2 separate regions of the Homo sapiens genome follow, and region 1 is linked to region 2. The links are contacts of gene promoters, found by promoter capture Hi-C in blood cells and fetal thymus (Javierre and others, 2016). All regions are on one chromosome and are shown on one strand. The core of a region is centred on a gene start or on the middle of the fragment in contact, and the rest is flanking DNA. Distances in the headings are between cores, read along the strand shown.

Region 1 (3,008 bases), core at 467-2,966, 570 kb after region 2:
ATTTGAATCTCAGGGGCCAGAGCTGTGTGTGTTCCACAAAAGGCCCTTTGAAACTCCCTTCCCTTCCTGGTTTGACAAAGCCCTAGACGAATGACCTTTGAGGGACGGACGCATTGGTTTGGCTTGGCCTCTGATCTCTCATGAAGGACTGTGAGCCACACTTGTCTGCCTGGGATCTGCTGCCTACTTCCTCCATTTTATTTAGCTCTTTGGTTATTTTCCTAATGAGCTGTCTGTTTGTCTCCAGCCTTCCAGCCAGAAGATGAATGTTTGCAAATCATAAACTAAGTATGTAGCACTTCGGACCTAAAAGGAGTGGTTCCATACGTTGTGAAATCCACCTACTCTGGAGCACTTGCCGGGGCTGTCCCTTTATAGTTTGGCCCTTGGCTGGGCAGTCATGCTACCCTCCAGTGAGAGCTGTCCCCAGCCTTGCATTTACATTCTCCCAAATGCCCACCTCCATAGCTGCCCTTCTTCATCTACCCCACCTTGCCAGATGTGCTTAGGAAGCTAACAGGCAGACCACGTACATACTTAGGGCAGCAGCAATTCACAGAAGAAAAGGAAAAATTAAACATATTTTAATCAACCAGGTGGTTACCATGGGAGAAATTTTTATATTTATGTTGTGGCTTTGAATAGCTTTCATTTTGAAGATGGGGTAGCAGAAAACGAATCTTAATATCTTTGATTCATGGAGACTTTAAAGGTCTTTATCAGGTACTGCTTTCTAGAGTTCTACAGACTGATTTTTGCTCCTCCCTGCTTCCCAGTGAATCTTGTACCCCAAGTTGATGTGACTCAGGAGTTAAATCCTGCTGGAAATCTGGAACTTGTCAAGCCTTGATCTGCCTTAACATGAACTATTTAGCTCCTATTGTTCCACCCTTGCATGACCCCAATTAAGGCAATAATAGAACCCAGTACTTTCAGAGTCTTTAAAGCCAAATGATAAAGCTTTATTCCTTAGTTTTGTGGTAGTTTGGAATCTTCATTTTCATGGAGTTGATGAACACTAAGTATTTACTCTCTTCACATATGCAAAAAAAAATTGTATGACCCCAATCTCTCCTGTCTTCTAAAAGACTTAAGTGCGTATTTTCACTAGATCCTACATAGACCCACTATATAAAATGGGCATTGATATTTTTATTTTTAAGACCTAGTAGGTGCTATGTAACCAAATTCTCCTAAATTGTAAGATGGAGTTGACACACCAAGGCAGAAGCACCTGTGGACATTACGCCCATAGGAGTCAACTTGGGTGGGTACATGGTTGCTGCGCTGGTTGGACCATTTCTGCTCTAAGTCACACCAGATGAGGTTGAGAAGGTTAGGAGTTGACTTAGCAGCTGTTAGTTACTACCAAATGCTGTGTGAGCACTAGATCTCAAAAAACTTTGAAATATATATGTGTGTATATATACATGTATGTATATAGTTGTGTGTATATGTATATGTATATATACAGTGTATATATACATATTTGCACACAAAATAAACCAGGTAGACAGTGTACATCTCTTAAAGGAATTACAACAGCACTTCACAATAAAATTTTAAAAACTATATTGCCCACAGCATTTAAAATATAGTGTAGGTATTTTTGACAGCTTTATGAAGTTTTAGAAAAAATAAAACTATATGCAGAAGACCTAATGATTTGATTTACAATGCCAATTTTAAAATTATATTTTCAGAGTTCAAACAACCAATACATACCCTCACCCCCAGCGCCCCAGGTATCCTTTCCTTGGTAACCTCATGCTGGGCAAGAACAAAGGGACTGAAGTGGCAAGATCTACTCCACAGTCTGTGCCTACTCCTTCTCCTTCTACCCTGACAGGAAGAAATCATGGGGCCTGAGATTTCTGTAAACATGAGGCTCTTGCTCAATGCTCTGGGGAACATAAACCCCAAGCCCTGGCAGAGGGGAAATCTCCTCCCACTTTCTAAAACTAGACAGTCGGGCCTAATATGAACCATGGAGTTCAGCAGCACCAGAGCGATCCTGAGTGGTCACAGTGTGTCCACATCAAATCGAAACACACAGGCAATTTGGGTACATTTCCCCTGCCAGTTTAGGATGGAAATGAGAGTTGGAAGAAAGGTCTCAGGAGCCCCAACCTTTTACCCTCCAGGTCACTGGTCACCTCCTTAGGACCTCCAGGACAAACTGCTCCTCTCTGTGGTGTGGGATTTGCTTGCGGAGACAACACGTTTGTTTAGCCTTACACATGAATGCAGAGCATATGGAGAAGTAAACCTCACTGACCACTGCTTCCCCAAGTGACTTCTCTCCCACGCCCCTCATGGAAAGCCCTACAAAGGAAAAATCAATCTTCTCAGCTTTAAACCTGCCTTCTGTCCTCGTCAGATGTTGCCAAGCACGAAGTGTTACGGGGGCTCCTATCACAAAGCAAACAGAGCTGGAGCAGCCGGAAGGAGAGCTGCTCTCTAAAAGCTTTTAAACACTGTTATATTTTTAAAACCACTTACTGAAGAGGTGAGTTATTTTCTACTCCTCCTTCCCCAGAAGCACAGACATTAAGGTTACCTAGAAACTTGTCCAGGAAGCATGTGGCAAATAACAACCATGCAATAGAAACATCCGGATTTGTCATCTAATAGGAGATGGTATCAGCAAGGTCATATTTGGATAGAGGTGGAAGATGAAACTTCATTAGCTTGCATGCCCCAGCTACTGGGGGGCCATTCCCATGTGCTCTGGAGGAGGGAGACTTTGCTTTTATCTTGGCTGGGAGGGCCTTTGATTGGTACAGGTTGGAAATGAGTAAGATCTGAGATTGACGCTTCTTGTACTGAAGACTGCCTGTGGGAATAAAAAGCAGAGGGAGAATAAAAAGACATGAGATGGGGTCGCCTCTACCCTGGAAGAACATCTAATCTGTAGGATGGACGAGATGGGATGTACACAGAGAATGACCTGAGAACAAAATTGTTTTTTTAAGTTTCAGAAGCAAAATAATATTCCGTGAAGGACC
Region 2 (2,732 bases), core at 62-2,561:
TTACTTTTGGCCTGAGTCCAACACGTTCCCAAGAGCTGGACACAAGTTGTCACGATCATGAACCTAACCACACTCCCCCCTGCGGCCAATTTCCTATTTTGCTGTTCAAAAGAGGGAAATGCACATATCAAAAGGAAAACAGCTTGGTGCTGGCCAGCTGCAGAAGGGTGGAGGTCTTTGGTGCTCAGAAGAGAGAGCAGCTCCTGCGGCAGTCCTGCGTGTGTCGCTGTCCAGACCTCGGTGCTGAATACTAGGCACTGGTATCTCCCGCCAGGTTCAATCCCTCAGGGTTCGAATAGGCTCCACCATGGGAGACTGAACTCACTTCCCTAGGGTGAGGGGTGGAGAATTCATTTAGATGTTTCCTTGCTCTCCTCCCACAGGAAACCATTTTTCCACAAAGAGGCATTGTGCATTTTATGGGAAAGTAATGGCACAGCTCCAGCTCAGCACCAAAGTGAAGAGCTCTACTGAGGCACAATGGAAAGTCGAGGTAAATAAAAACTGCTCTTTCCCTCCCTGAATCAACACAACAGCTTTTGGGATCCTAGATCCCCTTGTTGACGAATTCTTAAAAATATGTTTTTTTAAAATCACATGATTAATCATTTTACTGATAAACACCCTAAAAGGTGGTGGTGGCGCTGGCTTTGCAATATCGGAGTATAACTACTGATATTGTTTTACTGAGGTTGAGAAACAAAGGGGAGGAGGGAAGTAAACTTGTAAACTAAGGTGGCTTGAATGGTTAAAAATTCATTTTTAATAGTATTGCTTTAACATAGACATGCTAATTTTCTCAGACAATTTAGAACAGAATTGGGACAGTAGTAGCTTCCCTTCTTCTCCTTACTCTCCTAGCCTCTCTCTTTGAAAGACCTAAGAGCCTTGTTCTTCATAGCAGGTGCTGATGCCCAAAGGGCCATTATAAGAATCCTATAGCCTCCCCCCCTCCCCGCCACACACATGAGATAATAAAGTAAATACAGAGAAAATGGATGGAAGGGAGGGAAAGCACTCCCAGCCTTTGATTCTTGGTAGTTATGTTCAAGTGGGGCACTTCTCTTTGAAAAGTGAAAATGTTTCTCACGGTACAGAATTTATGGGCAGACAAGGAGCAGACTTAACTGATCCCAGCAAACAGTTCCTTCCTTTTCCTAATCCCTGGCTGCTTATTTTAGCCGCTTCTCCGCCCCGCCGGGAATACCATTCGGATCTTAGTCCAGGTAGATCTGACGTCAAGAGATGGCTTTCGTCGATTTGACGTGTAAACACTCATTTCCATTCTGGCTGGGAAGGGCTGGGGCTCCACTCAGCCTGGAGACCGAAGCGCTTCACTGAGCGCTCGCCGCCGCCCAGCCTCTCCTCTCGCGCCTCCTAGCTCTTCGCAGAGCAACCAGGAGCCAGGAGTGGTCTAGAGCCCGAGGGTGGGAAGGGGGAGTCTGTCTGGCTTTTCTCCTATCTTGCTTCTTTTTCCTCTTCCCTTCCCACTCTTGTTCAAGCGAGTGTGTGAGCTATGGAGCGAAGAGCCTGGAGTCTGCAGTGCACTGCTTTCGTCCTCTTTTGCGCTTGGTGTGCACTGAACAGTGCAAAAGCGAAAAGGCAATTTGTCAATGAATGGGCAGCGGAGATCCCCGGGGGCCCGGAAGCAGCCTCGGCCATCGCCGAGGAGCTGGGCTATGACCTTTTGGGTCAGGTAAGAGTTTCCACTTTCAAGAAACTTTCTGGGGCCCCAGGGGACTGGCGGGACTGGAGCGCGGTCTTCCAAGTGGGAGCCCCAGGTTGCACTCTCCAGAGCCCAGAGTAGCAAAGAGCAAGGAGCTGCTCCAGCCCTCGCCCCTGTCGCGCTTGGAGAGAGAGAAAGCTTGCATTATTTACTGTTTAGGCTGGGCGCAGCCAAGCAGAAGGAAGCCGCTGCAGCTGGGTAGGGCTTATGCTTACTGTTGGCCGCTCTAGAATTGAAATCCGTTCCCGCGCGGTTTGGAAGAAAAATCCCTCCACGCTTGTTCAGGGAACTTGAGATACACTCAAGCTCTTACCAACCAAGCGCCCCCGGGAGAAGCAGTGCGCTCCATCCCCCGGGACTGAGGCGGTCTGCGTCAGGAGCCGGCTGTTGCCTTCTTTTCAATATGGCAGCATCAGATCCAAGTCCTGATGCAAGGGGCTAAGCAGGCTTGGGGCTGTCCGCCCTGGCAGCCTGTAAGGGCACGCCCAGGGCATTGGAAGAGTGCCAGCTGCTGGGACTCGCGACCAGGAGGTTGGGAGGCCGCGGAGTAGCCTGGGAAGCTGGGGGGAGAAATGGTGGGTGAAAGACACGGGACCATCTATCCCCGCGACTCTCTAGGGAGCTCCGGCTTTTCACTGGGAACTTATAAAGTCCAAGCTTCATAACTTTGCCCGGCCAGTCCCACTGCAGGGTCGAGATGCCGAACTGACTATGGGGAAGGGATCTATTTCTTTCTTGTTCTTCAGCCAAGTACGTAATCGTTTTCCCGGGAATTTCAGCTTATTGTTGCCTGTCCAAGTGAAGGCTTGGTCGATAGGTAGCTGGTTGGAGGTGGGTGGGCGTCAAGACATTAAGTGGGAGACTGCTTATAGCTGAGCGATTCCGAGGGGACCCTAGGGAGTGTGACTTCTAGTCTAGAGCTTTCCTTTCCTTGGCTCGGAATCAAGCCCTCGCCCCCTGCTTGGGAAGTTGGTCTGCATTGAAGCGTGGGAGGAGGCAGTTGTAA

Evidence for each region. The method cuts DNA at HindIII sites, captures the fragments that hold promoters and counts their contacts. A CHiCAGO score of 5 or more calls a contact.
Region 1: a fragment that was not itself captured here is called in contact with the fragment with the promoter of PCSK1 in region 2 in 2 of 17 cell types (erythroblasts and fetal thymus); the score reaches 5.5 in erythroblasts.

The regions. Positions count from the first base shown.
Region 1 is chr5:95,862,464-95,865,471 of GRCh38, reverse strand. It overlaps LOC105379091 (a long non-coding RNA gene), which reads right to left. Exons shown (of 3, transcript XR_001742813.2): 1 at 1,726-3,008. Among named protein-coding and RNA genes, the nearest start is that of LINC01554, 12 kb to the right of the region's middle. RefSeq lists enhancers at 1,548-2,049, 2,305-3,008. The HindIII fragment of the contact is 1,507 bases long and covers 963-2,469 here.
Region 2 is chr5:96,431,827-96,434,558 of GRCh38, reverse strand. It overlaps PCSK1 (proprotein convertase subtilisin/kexin type 1), which reads left to right and starts at 1,311. Exons shown (of 14, transcript NM_000439.5): 1 at 1,311-1,696. The coding sequence starts at 1,517. The region is part of intron 4 of LOC101929710 (a long non-coding RNA gene); the gene reads right to left. It also overlaps a transcript of CAST not described here and the pseudogene LOC102724070. RefSeq lists silencers at 159-278, 140-434. The HindIII fragment of the contact is 4,966 bases long and covers 1-1,866 here.